Linked DNA regions of Homo sapiens: regions 1, 2, 3, 4, 6 and 7 are each linked to region 5. Evidence: promoter capture Hi-C in human tissues and cell types (Jung and others, 2019). All regions are on one chromosome and are shown on one strand. The core of a region is centred on a gene start or on the middle of the fragment in contact, and the rest is flanking DNA. Distances in the headings are between cores, read along the strand shown.

The links. The method cuts DNA at HindIII sites, captures the fragments that hold promoters and counts their contacts. A contact is called where the count stands out against the background at its distance.
Region 1: a contact is called between a fragment that was not itself captured here and the fragment with the promoter of SGSM3 in region 5, in 1 of the 25 tissues and cell types used here (pancreas).
Region 2: a contact is called between a fragment that was not itself captured here and the fragment with the promoter of SGSM3 in region 5, in 1 of the 25 tissues and cell types used here (dorsolateral prefrontal cortex).
Region 3: a contact is called between a fragment that was not itself captured here and the fragment with the promoter of SGSM3 in region 5, in 2 of the 25 tissues and cell types used here (aorta and dorsolateral prefrontal cortex).
Region 4: a fragment that was not itself captured here is called in contact with the fragment with the promoter of SGSM3 in region 5 in 1 of the 25 tissues and cell types used here (dorsolateral prefrontal cortex).
Region 6: a contact is called between a fragment that was not itself captured here and the fragment with the promoter of SGSM3 in region 5, in 1 of the 25 tissues and cell types used here (mesenchymal stem cells).
Region 7: a contact is called between a fragment that was not itself captured here and the fragment with the promoter of SGSM3 in region 5, in 1 of the 25 tissues and cell types used here (dorsolateral prefrontal cortex).

Annotation. Positions count from the first base shown.
Region 1 is chr22:40,068,308-40,071,022 of GRCh38, reverse strand. It overlaps a transcript of TNRC6B not described here. Among named protein-coding and RNA genes, the nearest start is that of TNRC6B-DT, 25 kb to the right of the region's middle. The HindIII fragment of the contact is 5,633 bases long and covers 1-2,715 here.
Region 2 is chr22:40,710,837-40,713,718 of GRCh38, reverse strand. No RefSeq gene overlaps it. Among named protein-coding and RNA genes, the nearest start is that of MCHR1, 33 kb to the right of the region's middle. RefSeq lists enhancers at 1-316, 1,280-1,796, 1,820-2,114 and a silencer at 1,887-2,006. The HindIII fragment of the contact is 3,262 bases long and covers 1-2,882 here.
Region 3 is chr22:40,763,560-40,766,351 of GRCh38, reverse strand. No RefSeq gene overlaps it. Among named protein-coding and RNA genes, the nearest start is that of MIR4766, 49 kb to the left of the region's middle. RefSeq lists a silencer at 1,255-1,354. The HindIII fragment of the contact is 4,442 bases long and covers 1-2,792 here.
Region 4 is chr22:39,935,571-39,938,276 of GRCh38, reverse strand. The region is part of intron 1 of GRAP2 (GRB2 related adaptor protein 2); the gene reads right to left. Among named protein-coding and RNA genes, the nearest start is that of TMA7B, 23 kb to the left of the region's middle. The HindIII fragment of the contact is 9,705 bases long and covers 1-2,706 here.
Region 5 is chr22:40,369,335-40,372,369 of GRCh38, reverse strand. SGSM3 (small G protein signaling modulator 3) reads right to left here and starts at 1,776. Exons shown (of 22, transcript NM_015705.6): 1 at 1,682-1,776. ADSL (adenylosuccinate lyase) reads right to left here. Exons shown (of 13, transcript NM_000026.4): 13 at 3,003-3,035. RefSeq lists silencers at 1,391-1,560, 1,621-1,730 and an enhancer at 1,881-2,090. The HindIII fragment of the contact is 4,461 bases long and covers 1-3,035 here.
Region 6 is chr22:40,801,045-40,803,842 of GRCh38, reverse strand. The region is part of intron 1 of SLC25A17 (solute carrier family 25 member 17); the gene reads left to right. Among named protein-coding and RNA genes, the nearest start is that of MIR4766, 12 kb to the left of the region's middle. The HindIII fragment of the contact is 6,915 bases long and covers 1-2,798 here.
Region 7 is chr22:40,782,828-40,785,527 of GRCh38, reverse strand. All of the region lies in intron 4 of SLC25A17 (solute carrier family 25 member 17), which reads left to right. Among named protein-coding and RNA genes, the nearest start is that of MIR4766, 30 kb to the left of the region's middle. The HindIII fragment of the contact is 3,487 bases long and covers 1-2,700 here.

The DNA of each region.
Region 1 (2,715 bases), core at 128-2,627, 300 kb after region 5:
AAACTTCTGAAAACCAAAACTTTTCTGGAATTCATTGGTGGTGAAACCTGATGGGAATTTAATTGGTGGCAAGGTCTGACCTGAACTGACATGAAACTATTTATAGTCTACCCACTTTAGACTTTAGTCATAGCTTTGGCTGCTGAAATACTAATGTATTTGACTCTGAAGTGCTGCCTCTGACCCTGCAGGGGCATTGTATAACATATGGTAAGTGCATCTTATTAGTTTTCAAAAAAAAAAAAATCTGAGCTATAAAATACATCTGGCCCTTAAGAGTTTCTGATAAGGAATTGTGAACCTAAAAATGAGTTTTTATTAAAATGATCCTGTCAACCTTCCTGAAATATACCATTTTTTTCTTAAAATACCTGTAAATTAATTTGAACTAATTCTTTTCCTCAAACTTAAAATATTCTACTTTGAATATCTATAAAGATATAACTGTATTATTAGTTACAATATTTTATTCCACTTCAACATTAAGTCTTATTTTAACTTCTTTCTGAAGGAAACACTGAAATCAGCCTTTAGCAGATGGTATCAGAATGGAGTGAAGACAAAGTTAAAAAAGCAGATCTCTGTCAACGAGCTTCACCCTTTCTTTTTATGTTTAAAGAAAAACAGCATGAGATTTTCTGATGTATCAAAGAACATTAATTTCAAAAGTTAATAAATCCCAATTTAAGTCATTAAAAGAATCAAATCAAATAAAAAGTCACAAAATCCAAGAAGTTACTAAATCACAAAATAAAAGTCAAGTAATAGAACAGCTACAAGAAATGAAAATTATATACTTTAGCCCAGTTACTTATCGATTTTATTATACGAATAAATGACAAAGGCACACGGAACACGCAAAACTCAAATGTCTCTCTTAGAGAAAAAAACTATAAAGCCAGATTAAAGCAAGAACTAAGACATAAAACTAACAACCTATAATTAATTACAATGAAGGGTATTTTAGAAGATACGAAAAAATAGGCACAGAATGAACACTTTAATAAACATAAATACAACACTTGTACCTACATAAAACATAATTAGTTAAAATTTTTTCTTTTAATATACACCAATCCTCCCAACTCCCCACCTCCTACAACACAACTAACATGCCAGAAACACTCCAGCCAAATAGGAACCTCATTTCATAACTGATAGCCGTGAAAATCTCTTTTAATAAATGTGTGGTATAGAAAAGAACCCCTAATTATTTCTGTCTAAAAGAAGCTCTCGGCCGGGCGCAGTGCCTCAGGCCTGTAATCCCAGCACTTTTGGGAGGCCGAGGTGGGTGGATCACCTGAGGTTGGGAGTTCAAGACCAGCCTGACCAACATGGAGAAACCCCATCTCTACTAAAAATACAAAATTAGCCAGACATGGTGGCACATGCCTGTAATCCCAGATACTCTGGAGGCTGAGGCAGGAGAATCGCCTGAACCTAGGAGGCGGAGGTTGCGGTGAGCCGAGATCACGCCATTGCACTCCAGCTGGGGCAATGAGAGCGAAACTCCATCTCAAAAAAAAAAAAATTAAAAAAAAAAAGCTCTTACAAAGTTATACTCAAAGAAACTAAAGACTGAAAAATAACACAAAATATTCCTTAAAACAACTTTTAGGCCAGGTGCAGTAGTTCACACCTGTAATCCCAGCACTTTGGGAGGGTGAGGTAGGAGGATCCCTTGAGCCCAGGAGTTTGAGATCAGCCTGGACAACATAGGGAGACCCCAGCTCTACAAAAAAAAAAAATTTTATATCAGTCAACCTGGTAGTGTGCACCTGTGATCCCAACTACTCAGGAGGCTGAGGTGCGAGGGCTGCTTGAGCCCACGAATTTGAGGCTGCATGCAGTGGGGCATGATTGTACCTGCACTACAGCCTGGGCGAGACAGCGAGATACTGTCTCAAAAACAAAAAACTTTCATAGCAAATTTGTGGCTAGGTCCTGGAAACAAAGGATAATGCTACCTTTACACTATTGTTTACTAAAGTGTGGTTTTTACTCTCCATGAAAAATATGTGGTCATAAAAATAGTATGTATGGAATTCTAAATTAATCAAAAATAAAAATTAAAAATTTCAATGCAAATTTCAAGGTAAAAAGTCCACCTCATATATATGGATTTAAAAGAAAAATCTGGCAAGGTGCAATGGTTCATTCCTGTAATCCCAGCATTTTAGGAGGCTGAGGCAGGGAGGACTACTTCAGGCCAGGAGTTTGAGACCAGCCTGGGCAACACGGCGAGACCTCATCTGTAGAAATAAAAAATAAAAGAAGATTTTCCTGTTGTAACCTTCCTTTTACTTAAACAAAACACAGAATTGAAAGAAAATGAAAAGAAAACAAGACAACGAAAAGTTACTAAGATACTAAACAAGAACATCCAGATAAAGAACAAACCAAGAGGCCAGGCGCGGTGGCTCACGCCTGTAATCCCAGCACTTCAGGAGGCCAAGGCAGGAGGATCACCTGAGGCTAGGAGTTCGAGACCAGCCTGGCCAACATGGTGAGACCTCGTCTCTATTAAAAACACAAAAATTGGCTGGGCATGGTGGCGCGTGCCTGTAGTCCCAGCTACTCAGGAGGCTGAGGCAGGACAATCACCTGAACCCAGGAGGCGGAGGTTGTAGTGACCCGAGATTGCGCCACTGCACTCCAGCCTGGGCAGCAGAGTAAGACTCCATCTCAAAAAACAAAACAAAACAAAAGAACAAA
Region 2 (2,882 bases), core at 240-2,739, 340 kb before region 5:
TCCAGTCTGCGCGACAAGAGCAAGACTCCATCTCAAAAAAAAAGAAAAAGAAAAAGAAAATGCCGATCGGAATAGAGCTGCAGGAGGGATGACAGATGGGTAGGTAGAGTTAAATTCAGTTCTTTTCACCTGTTCTCTGTATCGGGCTCTGTGGTAGGCACACAATTTACATTCCCCTTCATGTAATGCTTTTCACGGCTTAGTAAGGTGGAAATTGTTATCCCATTTTTATAAGAATGAAATCTAAGGCTCCACAAGCTTAAGTGTTTTGCCTAAGATCTCAGTGCAGGAATATGAACCCAGGTCCACCTCATCTCAAGGTGGTGTCCCTTCACCACTACCTTCCACAGTGAGGTTGTTCGGTCAAGCAAACCAGGCAGGAGAGGGATCGTCTCTTCTCTTGAGATGATGGCGGCCAATCATTAAATCTCCCCCTAAGCAAGGAAGTCTTTAGGGACTTGACCTCCAGCCTCACCTGAAGGTTCCCTTGTCCTCAGAAGTCCCATCTCTCTCCTTCAATCAGGTAGTGGGATATAGCAGGGAAAGCATAGTGCGGAGCCAGATAGACCCAGGTTCAAATCCATGCGCCCTGTGGACTCCCTGATTTCGTCCTTGCTATAGAATTGAGGGAAAACAGCGACTCTGTTGTTTTGTGTTTTGTTCTTGTAAAGACAGGGTCTCACTATGTTGCCGAGGCTAGTCTTGAACTCCTGGGCTCAAGAGATCCTCCCACCTCAGCCTCCCAAAGAGCTGGGATTACAGGCATGAGCCACCATGCCCAGCCCTAGTTTTGTTTGAAGAATGCTGAGGACTGCCAGGGGTGGTGGCTCACGCCTATAATCCCAGCACTTTGGGAGACTGAGGTGGGTGGAACTCCTTGAGCCCAGGAGTTCGAGGACAGCCTGGGCAACATGGCAAGACCACATCTCTACAAAAAAATAAACAAAATTAGCCAGACATGGTGGCACATGCCTGTGGTCCTGGCTACTCAGGAGGCCGAGGTGGGAGGATCACTTGAGCCGGGGAGGTAGTAAGCCATGATGACGAACTGTACTCCAATCCAGCCTGGGCAACAGAGCAAGACCCTGTCTCAAAAAAAAAAAAAAAAAGAAAAAGAAAAAAAGAGAGAATGCCAAACGCCGAGGGCCGTGGGGAGGACTAAGTGAACCGAGGAGAAGGATCCTTGACTTTTGTATTAAACTCAACCAGCCCAGGCCAGGCGCAGTGGCTCATACCTGTAATTCTCACACTTTGGGAGGCCGGGGTGTAAGGATCACTTGAGGTCAGGAGTTCGAGACCAGCCTGGCTAATGTGATGAAATCCCATCTCTACTAAAAGTACAAAAAAATTACCCGAGTATGGCGGCCAACTCCTGTAACTGTAGCTACTCGGGAGGCTGAGGCAAGAGAATCACTTGAACCTGGGAGGCAGAGATTGCAGTGAGCAGAGATCGTGCCACTGCACTCCAGCCTGGGTGATAGAGCAAGACTTTGTCTCAAAAAAAAAAAAAAAAACCTCAAACAGCCCGTCTCTACCCAGCAGCTTAGGAGACTTTTCTCCTTCTGAGCTCTCTTTTCTGGGTTCTCCCACAAAAAGCTTCCTTCTGTCGCCCCCAGGGTATATAAAGATATTTACTTGTACCCTTGAATTTGATTTCTCTACATCCCATCCTAGAGGCAACTGTGCCTGTAGCCATCCCTGGGGGAATCTTGCCCCACGCACACATTTACTCTGCACCTTCCGGACCCCATACCCCTTTTCTATGTGCCTGTTGCCTCCGGCCAGGCCTCGGAAATCTTGCCCTGTTCTCCCCAGGCTTCGTAGCATGGCCTGACTGACAGTGGCATGTGTAGCAGGATCGCAGATTAATATACAAGGAAAGGCGCACGGAGAGACGATGTTTCTCTCTTTCCTGCAGCTGATCTGCTGAGCCATGAGCCCCTCCGGGGAAGTGGAAAGAAACTGTCATCACTGCACTGCAGCTTATCTCGGTTTAGATAGCCTCTCGATGACTCATGTCTCTGTAAATACTTGGTTTTTTTGTTCTGTTTTGTTTGAGATGGAGTCTCGCTCTGTCACCCAGGCTACAGTGCAGTAGTACGATCATAGCTCACTGTGACCTCAGTATCCTGGGTTCAAGTGATCCTCCTGCCTCAGCCTCCCAAGTAGCTGGGACCACAGCCACACGCCACACGCCACCACATTCAGCTAATTTTTTTTTCACATTCAGCTAATTAAAAAAAATTTTTTTTGGAGGCTGGGTGTGGTGGCTCATGCCTGTAATCCCAGCACTTTGGGAGGCCGAGGTGGGTGGATCACCTGAGGTCAGCAGTTCAAGACTAGCCTGGCTAATCTGGTGAAACCCCATCTCTACTAAAAATAAAAAATTAGCCGGGCGTGGTGGCGCATGCCTGTAATCCTAGCTACCCAGGAGGCTGAGGCAGGAGAATTGCTTGAACCCAGAAGGCGAAGGTTACAGTGAGCCAAGATTGCCCCATTACACTCCAGCCTGGGCAATAAGAGCAAAACTCTGTCTAAAAAAAAAAAAAAAAATTTGTTTGTAGGGGTTGGCTCTCACTATGTTGTCCAGGCTGGTCTTGAACTCCTGAGCTCAAGCGATCCTTCTGCCTCAGCCTCCTAAAGTGCTGGCATTACAGGCGTGAGCCACTGTGCCCAGCCCCCATGTGGGCCTTTTGGAGTGCCCTGCTGACACTCCCTGCCCGGTGAGTCCTCATGGCTGAGTTCCTGTTGTGAGGTCTGCACATATACTGGTCTCTTTTTCCTGCCCTGACACTCTGGGAATCTCAAGGCCCTTCAGCTCTTGCAAGTCCCCTGGTCAGATCCTGGAGGGATTTCAGGATGCCCTGTGGCCGTGGGGAGCC
Region 3 (2,792 bases), core at 264-2,763, 390 kb before region 5:
GGATTCAGTCTGTAATGACATTGAAAAGGAAGGAGAACTCTGTTTGAAACTAGTTACAGAGCATGAGAGTGGGTACTGAAACTTCTATACAAGAAATTGAATGCCCACTAAATGCTAGTCACAATTAATTTACATACATCTTTTGTTTTTTTCTTTGAGACAGAGTCTCGCTCTGTCACACAGGCTGGAGTGCAGTGGTGCGATCTCGGCTCACTGCAAGCTCCGCCTCCCGGGTTCAAGCCATTCTCCTGCCTCAGCCTTCTGAGTAGCTGGGACTACAGGTGCCCACCACCACGCCCGGCTAATTTATTTCTATTTTTAGTAGAGATGGGGCTTCACCATGTTAGCCAGTCTCGAACTCCTGGTCTCGAACATCATGGTCTCGAACTCCTGACTTCATGATTCGCCCGCCTCGGCCTCCCAAAGTGCTGGGATTACAGGCTTGAGCCACCGCGCCCGGCCTATGTACATCTTGATATCCTTGTAACAACTCCAGCGTATGGGGTTTATTCCCATTAACAGGTGAAGTAGTTGAAGCTTAAAGGGTAATTTATCTATAGTCACACACCTCATGAATAGGGGTAGGGATTCCTAGTTGAGGCTCTTTTTACCCTGCCATACTACATTCTTCAGATGTCCTTAAAAGTAAGCCATCTAGGCCGGGTGCAGTGGCTCACGCCTGTAATCCCAGCACTTTGGAAGGCCAAGGTGGGTAGATCACCTGAGGTCAGGAGTTCAAGACCAGCCCAACCAACATGGTGAAACCCTGTCTCTACTAAAAATAGAAAAATTAGCGGTGTGGTGGCAGGCGCCTGTAATCCCAGCTACTTGGGAGGCTGAGGCGGGAGGATAGCTTGAACCAAGGAGGCAGAGGCTGCAGTGAGCCGAGATCATGCCACTGCACTCCAGCATGGGTGACAGCAAGACTCCATCCCCCGCAAAAAAAAAGTAACCTTCATTTATTTCTTTAATTAGAAATGTATTTATTTATTTATCTTCATTTATTCTTTAATTGGAGTCACCAAAATGATCTACCCTAAGGGCACTATTGATGTAATTGTGTCACGTGCACCTCATTCTTGTTTTGCTGTGGTTTCTATAGAACCCATTGGCAAATTGGATGGCCAATCCAGCAGGTGGTTCCCTGTGTGGGTGTCATATGGAGGACCTTCTTAAATTGCAAATTCCTATTCTAAGAATAAGGTTATATTCATTTAAGAAATCATTTTTGATTATCTGCCATATCCAAACACTATGCAGATTGCTGGGATTATACAGATGAATAATAGTCTCTGCCCTCATGTATGTCATTGTTCAGCGTGGGAGTCAGACAAAAACAACTTAAAATTGTACCGCTGATGAGTTCTGATGAGAAATGTGCTGTAAATGTTCAGGAGTTGCTTTGAGAGCATGAGGAAGTGGGACCTAACTCTGTATTGAACTGTGGGGCCAGGCGGTGACATTTGAACTAGAAATACACCAAGCAGTGGGTGGAGGACCTCGACAGGAAATAAATAGCATATGCAAAGTAGGAAGAGGATGATACTTTATTATTTGTGCATTGGTTTGAATTAGATCCAGAAGCTTTCCAACCTGGACCTCTGGGTTGAACAAATATTGAAGCGGAGGAGAAGAAACAGCATCAGGTCACAGAGGGCCTTCAACAAGGGAGGAGGGGTGATTAGGACCCCCATTCTACTTAGCAGTTATGTCTACATGTAGACTTGGGAAAGAAGATAAGGTGCTTGTACTCTAAGAATTTAAAATGTAGGCCGGGTGTCATGGCTCATGCCTGTAACCCTAGCACGTTGGGATGCCAAGGCTGGTGGATCACGTGAGCCCAGGAGTTTGAGACCAGCCTGGCCAACATGGCAAAACTCTGCCTCTACAAAAAATACAAAAATTAGCCAGCCATGGTAGTGCACGCCTATAGTCCCAGCTACTTGCGAGGCTGAGGTGGGAGGAACATCTGAACCCAGGAGGCAGAGGTTGCAATGAGCCATGGTCGCACCACCGCACTCCAGCCTGGGCGACAGAACGAGACCCTGTCTCAAAAAAAAAGAAAACAAAAACAAAAAAACCGGCATGGTGGCTCACGCCTGTAATCCCAGCAATTTTGGAGGCCAAGGCTGGGGGATCACTTTAGGCCAGGAGTTTGAGACCAGCCTGGCCAACATGGAGAAACCCCATTTCTACTAAAAATACAAAAACTAGGCAGATTTGGTGGCAGGCACCTGTAATCCCAGCTACTCGGAAGGCTGAGGCAGGAGAATCACTGGAACCCAGGAGGCAGAGGCTGCAGTGAGATCATGCCACTGCACTCCAGCCTGGGTGACAGAGTGAGACTGTCTCAAAAAAAAACAAATTAAATCTAATTTTATTTCATTTATTTTTGTAGAGATAGGGTCTTACTATGTTGCCCAGGCTGGTCTCAAACTCCTGGACTGAAGCAATCCTCCCACTTTGGCCTCCCAAAGTGCTGGGAGTACAGACATGAGCCACCATGCCTGGCTAATTTTAAATGTACTTTAAAAATTAGACATAGGGCTAGGCGACAGAGTGAGACCCTGCCTCAAAAAAAAAAAAAAAATAATAATAATAATGAGACATAGCATTAATTGTTTCATTTTACCTTTATGAAGACTGACCAGGAAGAACAGTTTAGGCTTACTGTGAATTCTTGTTATTATCAAGGTCTGGACTTGGATTTATCTTGATTAATACAGAGATGTTTACTTGGAAACTAGTACAGAGACTAGATGAGGTTTTTTTTTCCCCTCCTAATTTTCATG
Region 4 (2,706 bases), core at 164-2,663, 430 kb after region 5:
GATTATGGAGACTTCATTGGTCTCAAGGATGTTTTTCTCTTTTTTAATTAGCTCCCTTTTTTCCTGCTTAAGGTTTTTTGGGTTTTGGAGGGAGGGGTAGTGAAGGGAGGGAAGTAGAGAAGGAAGAAGACAAGTCAGGAGACTGTCCCCATGCAGGGCCTATCCCCTCCCCTGCCTGTAACTTGGGTGATGCCCAAGGTAGAGCCAGCCACTTCCTTCTTCTTATGCGTATTTATTACCTTGCTCTTCTTTAATCAACGCCAGTCTGGCTTATATAATCTAACTTTTTTTTTTTAGTGCAAGACGCATCACATGAAGTCTCATTTGTCCTCAAACTTTTTGTAAGAAAAGTATCTTTCTCTTTAAGTATAATGTATATGTTCTGTTAAACTCAAGCACATTTGATTCTTTTTTCCCTAATTTGCCACTCTCTGCAAGGCGAGGCTTGCCTACCTCAGTGGGAGGTTTACTACGGGACTTAGGTGTCAGACCTGGCTTCAAACTCTAGGCTCTGCTGCTTACTTTGTAGCCGGAGAACCATAGTTTATCTTCTCTGTGCCTCAGTTTCTTCACCAGAAATGCAGATAATAATCCTTAGTCCCCAGTGTTGCAGGGAAGAGGACGTAGAATACTTGGTTCCAATGCTCAATGTCTCTTTCTTCAAAGCATTTTTGCATTCTGGTTATCTACAATCCTTTCTTGTAGAGACAAATCCAAAACTGTTTCTACAAAGTGTAAGGCCACCAAGCGTATACTACTTTTCAGCCTCTCAAGCACCTATTTTTCCTCACTTTCCCTGGGCAGGCGCTAGCTTCTCCCTATTGCCTGTGGAGTCCTAGCTGCAGTGTTATCAGAAAGTATGACACTAATCAAGACAATTCAGTGAGGAAAGAGAGAAGACAGCACTAACCAAGGGGAAGTGGGGAGAAATGGTGGATGGAGAAACAGAAAACTGACCAGGCTTCTACACTTTGCCATCTATGCAGAGCTCAGTCACTGTGATGCTACCTTTGAGGGGACACACACCACCCAGACTGTGCCAATGCCTAGAAACGTGAACCAGCTAAGAATAAGTTACCATGGATTGATATGGTCTATCAGGTGACAAGAACTTTATAATCGGTCACCCGTTGCAACATTTATTATTGTTACTATCATCCTTTGCATTTTAGAGGTGGGAAATGGAGGCAAGAGATTTCAGTACATGTCTGTTGGCACCTAAGGCTGTGTGTTCTCTTCACTTTGCTGCTCTGCCTCTCCTGCTACGAGCAACATAACCAAATCCCTCCTACTTGGTCAGGATGACTGCTCACTAGCTTAGGCCCTCTCAACCTTCCTGGGTGGCTGTCCTTTAGCCAAAACATTCAAGAGCAATTTTCACATACCCAGGAAATTCAAGCCCATTACTTCTTGGTCAAAGAGGTAAAGACTGCAATCGACCTGGCAGACCTCAGACCAAGCAATCATGCGCTTTAAGGCAATTGCAGAAATGGAAACAATCTCAGCTAATAGACTTACAAACTGTCGCTCTTTTCCTTTTCTTCTGCCGGTCCCCCCCACCACCCTGTCTCTCTCTCTTCCTCTTTCTCTCTCTCTCCTTCTGTCTGTGTCTCATTTGTCACAGTTCTCTTACCTTTCCCTTCATCAACTTTCCCCACAATATATTCTGCTTTTTCCAAGTTCTTTTCTTTCTCCTTGAAACATTAATAACTTACCATGAATCCAGTTAGAGAAAGTGTATCTCGCATACTTCCACTTTTAATTCTCTGACACTTTTCTTATTAAAATGACACCATGAAAACATCAATCCAAAACAACAAAAATAAGGCAAAAAGAGACCACCAACCTCGCTGGAAATGCTACTTCGAGCCTCACTCTGCTGCTAGACTGATGTATCACTTGATGTTTCCTCATTTTATTCTTATTGTTTCCTAAAGCAATAACAATTGTCTACAGAAACACCTCGGATCCTGCTGGCAAAACCCAAACATAAGTGAAGCATTAAAAATACCGCCCCCCACCCCTGAATCAGAAATCATCTAATGAACCCCATCAGAAGGGTGGAGGGCGGGGTGGGGGTGGCAGGGGTAGATGGGAATGACAGTCGAGAGAGACAGACAGACAGACAGACATTTTACAAATCTCCAGGCTTCATTTTCTTTTACTTCTCATTTTCTATTCACATCATGATTTCCCCTGGAATATATCACCAGGATTTTATGGTGGCCTCATGTTCTCTTTTTTTCCCTCTTCCCTTCTGTTCACTTAATGTTTGTTTTTACTGATTTGGGCTCTGAAAGCATGGCTTATTTATCATGGATTTGAAAGCCTCCATCTTCTTGCTCTGTTTTCGCCAGGGCTGTGACATGGTTCACAAATGCTGCAAATACGCTCAGCGCCCCTCTCCTTTTCCTCACTGCCTGTGCCCTGGGCTACCTTAATTCTCATCTGGGCAAAACACAAAAGTGTCAGCAGAGGACGGCATGACCACAATTACTTTAATCTTGCTGTCACTTTTACTTACGCTCCCAAGCCCTCATTTGTTGTTGGAATGCTGGTCATTTTTTCAGCTCACTGATCTCAAAGCTTGCAAAAGTGATCATCTATCCATAGAGAAGCTCCCCTTGCTTCATTCGATAAGTCTATCCCAGAAAAGTGGGAGGGCCTGACATTTTTACAAGTAAAGGTACTAAAAAAATGCCAGTA
Region 5 (3,035 bases), core at 527-3,026:
GCAGATCACGAGGTCAGGAGATCGAGACCATCTGGCTAACACGGTGAAACCCCGTCTCTACTAAAAATACAAAAAATTATCCGGGTGTGGTGGCGGGCACCTATAGTCCCAGCTACTCGGGAGGCTGAGGCAGGAGAATGGCGTGAACCCGGGAGGCAGAGCTTGCAGTGAGCCGAGATCGCGCCACTGCACTCCAGCCTGGGCAACAGAGCGAGACTCCGTCTCAAAAAAAAAAAAAAAAAAAAAAGGGGGGGGGGACAGGGAGAAGAACTAAAGCTCAGGCTACTATGATAATTAGGGATGAAAAAGCTACATTCACTTAGGATTATCAAAAGCCAGGAAAGATATCTATAGAATTACAAATTAATCGGGCCTGGCGCAGTGGCTCACGCCTGTAATCCCAGCACTTTGGGAGGCCCGAGACGGGCGGATCACCTGTGGTCAGGAGTTCGAGACCAGCCTGGCCAACATGGCGAAAAACCCCGTCTCTATTAAAAATACACAAATTAGCCGGGCGTGGTGGCGGGCGCCTGTAATCCCAGCTACTCGGTAGGCTGAGGCAGGAGAATCACTTGAATCCGGGAGGCGGAGCTTGCAGTGAGCCGAGATCATGTCATTGCACTCCAGCCCGGGCAAGAGCGAAACTCCCGTCTTAAAAAAAAAATAGAAAAGAAAAGAAAAGAAGAATTACAAATTAATCACCAAGAACAGAAATAGTGTAAAAACAAAGATGTAATTCAACTGTTTAGAGTGCAGAGATAATTGGAACTAAAAGAGCAAGAAAAGCGGGAAACATATGTACCTATAAACCTAATCACAAACCTGTCACAAAAACTACGAGTAAACGAGTCGAAGTTGAAAATGAGTTTTTGTGAATCAGAGTCTGATTTGACTTGAATTTACTAAGAAAGAATAAGAAAGGTGTAGAACATTCCAGGACATCTCTATCCCACCGCAAAACAAAAAAGAGCCATCAACCCACCACAAACGTGCAGCGTGAGACTGGAAGATACACTAGTCACCCAGTCACTGAAAACAACCTTTGAAACATCTTTATTTTTCTTTCCAAATAAAAAAGAGCCTAGGTCAGTAAACTAAGTATGAGAATAATTTTCAAAATTCCAGTCCTAACCACACCGGATGATTCTGGCTAACGTATGCCTCAGTTTCCCCCGTGCTAAAATGCAAACACACCGGTGTTCCGAGTCTCGGGCCTGGATCCGAGCCCGGGTTCTGCACCTGGATCTGAATCTTAAAGGGAAAACCGCAAGTTAAACCTGAGGAGGAGTCTGCAGCTGTCCCGGTGCCAGAGCCAGCCAGGCTCTTTTTAGAAAGCCCCCCGCCTCAGGCGCGGTTTTCGTAAAACCGCTCCCGGCTGCCAGCGCGGTGGATTCCGGCTGGCGCCCCGAACACCTGAGGTGGCCTCGGCCGTCTAGGGGCGGCCGCACCGGAGGACGCAGCCGACCTCCCCGCCCCGCCGCGTCCCCGGCCCCCATTCCAACGGCGACGCGAGCAAGGTCGGCCCGGCGGCTCTCCGGCCCGAGGCGGTGCTTCTCTCGTGGGCGCCTTCGGCCCATACGACCCTCGGTCGGACAGTCCGACCACAGCCGCCCCGCAGCCCCCGCCTGAGGGGAACTTGTAGGCGCCGGTGGGTCTCCGCTGACTCCCGCCCCGCACTCACCTGCCCCACGGGCCACCTCAGCGCCAATCCGGGTCGGGTTAGCAGCTTCCCCACTCGCACCCAGTCAGCGCTCAGCGGCGCCTAAGCGCACGCGTGGCGGGGCGTGGCATGGGCGGCCGCGGGTCATGCTGGGGGCTGTAGTCGTTCCCGCCCACTAGGCGGGGCGCGTCCAGGGGCTTTGCGCCCCCATCCCAAGGCCAGCATGCATAGCGATGATTTCTTCGTCTGCACCGCAGCCTGAGAAGCTTGGGACAGTATGGTGTGGACCAGCAGTCAGGGTGGTGGGAGATAGACGCTGCAAATAACTTGCTAATTTTTTTTTTTTTTTTTTTTTGAGATGGAGTCTCGCTCTGTCACCCAGGCTGAAGTGCAGTGGCGTGATCTCGGCTCACTGCAACCTCCACCTCCCAGGTTCAATCAGTTCTCTGCCTCAGCCTCCCGAGTAGCTGGGATTACAGGCGCCCGCCACCACGCCCAGCTAATTTTTTTGTATTTTTAGTACAGTATTTTTAGTAGAGACGGGGTTTCACCATGTTGGCCAGGCTGGTCTCGAACTCCTGACCTCAGATGATCTGCCCGCTTCAGCCTCCCAAAGTGCTGGGATTACAGGCGTGAGCCACCGCGCCAGGCCGGAAAACGAAATTTTCTGAGTACCTTCTGTGTCAGATTCTATGCTGTGCAATTCCCATCTCACCAACCCTCACATCCACCTAGGCTTCATATCACCTTTCTAGGGACTCCTAACCCTCGTGCTTCCACTAAAGCTGTGTTTACAAACATCAGGCTCTCCTGGTTCTTAAATGAAACTGAGCATCAGCCAGGGAAAGAGGGCATTAAGTGTCCAGGTGTCTGACTTCAGCTGAGCAGACATTTCATCAGTTGCCCCAAGTTCTGCCCAGAACCTGACATCTGGGTAGTTCTGATGCTGGAGTCCGTGTGAATTTAAACCAATCTTAAAGAAAATACAACAGCCTGGGTTAACAGAGTGAGACCCTGTCTCTACAAAAAACAACAAAAAATGAACCACGTGTGGTTGTGTGTGCCATAGTCCCAGCTACTCAAGAGGCTGAGGTGAGAGGATCGCTTGAGCCCAGGAAATCAAGGCTGCAGTGAACTGTGGTCATGCCACTGCACTCCAGCTTGGGCGACAGAGCAAGATCTTGTCTATATATATATATAAAAGATAGATATATGAATGTATATTATATATAATATATATGAATGTATATTATATATAATATATATGAATGTATATTTTATATATATACATAAATGTACATTTAATATATATATGTTTTCCAGTGAACACGCAGACCACCCATCAAATTAAAATGTTACATGGGAAAATCAGATT
Region 6 (2,798 bases), core at 32-2,531, 430 kb before region 5:
GCCATTAAAAAAAAAAAAAAAACAAAAACTAGCAAATGCTGGTGAGGATACTGAGAAAAGGGAACTCTTGCACACTGTTGATGGGAATGTAAATTGGTACAGCCATTATGGAAACATTATGGAGGTTCCTCAAAAAATTAAAAATAGAACTACCATATGATCCAGCAATCCCATTACTGGGTATATATCCAAAGGAAATGAAATCAGCGTGTCAAAGAGACCTCTGCATATCTGTGTTAATTGCAGTGCTATTCACAGTAGAAAAAATGTGGAATCAATGCTTATCTACAGATGAATGGATAAGAAAAATGTAAATATACCAATGGGAATTTTATTCAGCTGTAAAACAGAATGAAATCCTGCCATTTGTGGTGACATGGATGAACCTGGACAATAAATATTATGTTAAGTGAAGTAAGCCAGGCACAGAACAAACATCACATGATCTTACTCATAAGTAGAATCTAAAAAAATTGATTTTATAGAAGTAGAGAGTAGAATAGTGGTTACCAGGGGCTAGAGATGGTAGGAAGGAGAGGGGGACCAGGAGAGGTTAGTTAAAGGGTACAAAGTTTCATTTAAGTCAGGTACTGTGGTGGCACAGGGCTGCAGTTCCAGCTACTCGGGAATCTGAGGCAGGAGGATCGCCTGAACCCAGGAGTTCAAGGCCAACTTGGGCAACACAGGGAGACCCCATCTCTTTAAAAGAAGAAAAAGTTAGACATGAATAAGTTCTGGTGTTCTATTACAAACTATGGTGACGATAGCAAATAACAATGTCGTGCGTATTTCAGGATAGCTAGAAGAGAAGATTTCCGATATTATCACCACAAAGAAATGATGTTTAAAGTAATGGGTGTGGTAATTACCCCAGTTTGATCATTATACAGTGTGTACATGCATTGAAACACTACACTGCACCCTATAAACATGTACAATTATTACATGGCACTTATAAATAAATAAATTTTGAAATGTCTCACTGTGGTATTCTTTTAATTCTCATCTACCAATTAGACCCCTTTTTGTTTTTCTATATAGTCCTTTTATATAAAAATCTGTTCTCATTATTAATCATTGGAGTAGGGAGGAGGCAGTGGTGGGTTTTCAGCTAACCCTCTTGATCCAGTCTTTCCAGTGCTACTAAATTTATAAAACTGTTACTTGGTGTTACTCATTTGAATTTTCTTTTTTTTTGAGAAGGAGTTTCCCTCTTGTTGTCCAGGCTGGAGTGCAGTGGCACGATCTTGGCTCACTGCAACCTCCGCCTCCCGGGTTCAAGTGATTCTCTTGCCTCAGCCTCCCAAGTAGCTGGGATTACAGGTGCCCACCACCACGCCTGGCTAAGTTTTGTATTTTTAGTAGAGGGGGAGTTTCACCATGTTGGCCAGGCTGGTCTCGAACTCCTGACCTCAGGTGACCCATCTGCCTCGGCTTCCCAAAGTGCTGGGATTACAGGCTTGAGCCAACGTGCCTGGCCTGATTTGAATTTTCATATGCCAGTTCTTGAGGTAGTAATAGACCAATGAGCTGTTTGGGCTGACTGTTCTCTTTATCTTGGTGTTTCACTTCAAGATATCCAGATAGGTAGGCAAGGACTTCTATGTTTAGGAACCTTCACGTGTCTATTTAAAGCTGGCAGAAAAGAGGGATGAAGGTGGCCCAGTGTTTGAAGAGGTAGCTTCCAGGCTAGACTTTTTCTGTCTGGAGATGCCCTGTCTATGCAGTACCCTTCAAAGAAATGCAGTACCGGCCAGGCACGGTGGCTCACGCCTGTAATCCCAGCATTTTGGGAGGCCGAGGCGGGTGGATCACCTGAGGTCAGGAGTTCGAGACCAGCCTGGCCAACATGATGAAACCCCGTCTCCACTAAAAATACAAAAAATTAGCTGGGCATGGAGGCGGGCGCCCTTAATCCCAGCTACTCGGGAGGCTGAGACAGGAGAATCGCTTGAATCCAAGAGGTGGAGGTTGCAGTGAGCCGAAATCCCGCCATTGCCCTCCAGTCTGGGCAACAAGAGCAAGACTCCGTCTTAAAAAAAGAAAAGAAAAGAAATGCAGTACCATGCGATAGAAAATGAGTGCCAGAGCCTTAATAAACTTAATAAGCTTTCTCTAACTTTCCAGCTCCCATTTTTCTTGGAAATTGCCTCCTGAAGATGAGCAAGGATGCTGGATGCATGGATTTGTAGGATTTGTAAAGCTTTGTGGGTTCAGTGTTTTGTGAGACATTGAATATCATTTAGTCGTTGAGTGTCATTTCTTGAAACATTGAGTATCATTTAATCATTTATCATGACTAGAAAAGAACAGTTATGTTGGGGTCATCAAAAAAGCATAAATAAGTGAAAGTACAGTGAATTGAATAAATGTTTAATTGAGAATCTAGGATGTGCACAGATATAGAAAGAATGCTCTCACAAATTAGCAGAAGAGTTGGATTTCACTGTAGTATATGTGCTGAAAGAGCCATAAATAAGTGCTAATGGCACCCTAGAGGACTGAACAACCAATTGTAAGCTGATAGGCGGGGAGAGGTAACAATATGTGTTTTGAAGAATACAAATATTAGAGTATTCTCCCTTGTCATGGAGGCTGACCTATTTAAATTGATAATAGGCCTACCAAATTTTCTTATTTAAGTTGACCTAGCTCCTAGTTATTTATCATTTACATATATATATATATATATATATATATATATATATATATATGTAATATATTTTTTTCTTTTTTCTTTTTTGAGACAGAGTCTCTTTTGCCCAGGCTGGAGTGCAGTGGCATGATCGCGGCTCACT
Region 7 (2,700 bases), core at 201-2,700, 410 kb before region 5:
CTGCCTGTGTACCTGCTATGACCTCTGCCTGGTAACCATGTGGATAACTCCTTTGCCTCCTTTTAGGTTTTTCCCAAATGGCCACTGTTAAATGATAAACTTTAGACAAATTATGTTTAACAGAGCTTTTTTTGTTTGTTTTTTGAGAAGGAGTCTCACTCTGTCACCCGGGCTGGAGTGCAGTGGCGCGATCTCCGCTCACTGCAACCTCCGCCTCCCAGGTTCAAGAGATTTTCCTGTCTCAGCCTCCCAAGTAGCTGGGACTACAGGCGCAAGCCATCATGCCCAGCTAATTTTTGTATTTTTAGTAGAGACGGGGTTTCACTCTGTTGGCCAGGCTGATCTCGAACTCCTGACCTAAGGTGATCCACCTGCGTCAGCCTCCTAAAGTGTTGGGATTACAGGCGTGAGCCACCATGCCTGGCCTAACAGAGTTTGATCAAGCAAAGAACAATTCGCAAATTGGGCAGCCCTCAGAACCAGAAGGTCAGAGTGACTCTGGAGCTGTCACATGGTAGAATATTTATGGACAGAAAAAGGAAAGTGACATATAGAAGTCAGAAGTGAGGTACAGAAACAGCCAGATTAGTTACCACTTGTTTACCTTATTTGAACAGTTGGCTGCCTGTGATTGGCTGAAACTCTATGATTGGCACAAGATCCAGGTAGGTTATAGTTCACTATATACTGAGAAACCTTCAAGGTTATTTTTTTTCCTTTTCTTTTTTTTTTTTTTTTTTTTTGTTGTTGTTGAGATAGGGTCTTGCTCTGTCATCCGGGCACTGGAGTACAGTGGTGCAGTCATAGTTCACTGCAGCCTCCAACTCCTGGGCTCAAGAGATCCCCCTGCCTCGGCCTCCCCAGTAGCTAGGACTACAGGGATGCCACCACACCCAGCTAATTTTTTTTTATTTTTTGTACAGATGGGGGTCTTTCTGTGTTGCCCAGGCTGGTTTCAAACCCCTGGCCTCAAGAGATTCTTCTGCCTCGACCTTCCAAAGTGCTAGGATTACAGGTATTAGCCACTGCTCCCAGCTGAATATTTATTTTAAAAAATAAAAAGAATATTTATTTTTATTGATATTAAATCTACCTTCTTAAAGCAACTAGAAACAAAGATGAAACTTAGTACATATGTTTTCTCCCCCTGCAAACGTATGAGTTAGCAATTCCAAAGTGACTTTTTGTATACTTTAGGATAAGTAAATATATTGTGATCCTGGCCTAGTTCGCTTGGACAATAAAGAAAAAGTATATACCCTTTCCCACAAGCCATTTATTCATCATGGTTTGTTCATCAAATATATATTGGGTGTCTAGTATGTGCTAAATCCAGTTCTAGATGCTAAGGATATGGCAGTAAATAAAAAATGAAAATCTCTGTCCTCATGAAGCTTACAATCTAATATTGTAAGATAGACAATAAACAAGGAAAATACATAGTATGTTAGAGGATAAGGTTACAGACAAAATTTAAGCAGAGAAGGGATAGAGAGTACTGAGGGTTAGAAAGAGGTACCATTGGCCGGGCGCGGTGGCTCATGCCTGTAATCCCAACACTTTGAGAGGCCGAGGCAGGTGGATTACCGAGGTCAGGAGTTTGAGACCAACCTGGCCAACATGGCGAAACCCCCTGTCTACTAAAAATACAAAAATTAACTGGGTGTGGTAGCGGGCACCTATCATCCCAGCTACTTGGGAGGCTGAGGTAGGAGAATCACTTGAACCCAGGAGGCGGAGGTTGCAGTGAGCGGAGATCGAGCCACTGCACTCCAGCCTGGGAGATAGAGCGAGACTCCATCTCCAAAAAAGAAAAAAAGAGGTACCATTTTAGATAGTATGGTGTTAAGTCAAGTTAAAGCTGTCTCTACATATTTTAACTTCAGTGCTGGGAATGGTAAAAAATTAAAAATAAATTAGCCGGCATGTGCCTGTAATCCCAGCTACTTGGGAGGCTAAGGAGGGAGGATCACTTAAGCCCAGGAGTAGGAGGCTGCAGCAAGACCATGTCTCAAAAAAACAAAATAAAATAAAATAAATAATTGTAACAGCTAATGGAATAAAACAGGTGTGAAAGTGAATTCCTGTGTTTTGAAATTGTAAAGAATAAAAGGAATAATCACTTGGTGATTGGATTAGATTAGTGGTTCTCCACTGAGGCTGATTTTGACCCACAGGGTCAAATGTGGCATCTAGTGGGTAGAGGCCAGGGAGACTGCTAATCATCCTACACAAGAGCCCACATACACACACAACAAATAATTTTCCACCCCAAAATATTAGTACTGTCACAGTTGGGAGACTCTGGGTTAAAGAATTTTACAATCCTTTGTTAATTGTGAGATTCTCTGATTGTAGGTCTTCTCTTTTTCTGAAGGTTGAGAGTTCCTTGAAAATTACTTTTGTGAGTTTTAAACTTCTCTTCATAACAAGTTTTTATATCTTAATATGTACATATTTTTATAATAATTATAACAGCTTTCTTCCTGCTGTGAGTATTATAATCACTGTAGAAATGAGTTGTATCATCTCTAAGGAGAACTAGGAACAGCGTTGTTGCTCTTCAAATTCTTCTTGAAACTTAGAAATTTATTATTTATTGTATTTTCCCAGAAAAACAAGCCTATAAAGCTTCATATCTTGGGGAATAATGTGGGAACAGAACCTTAACAGATAAATGAAGAGACACTTATTTTTATG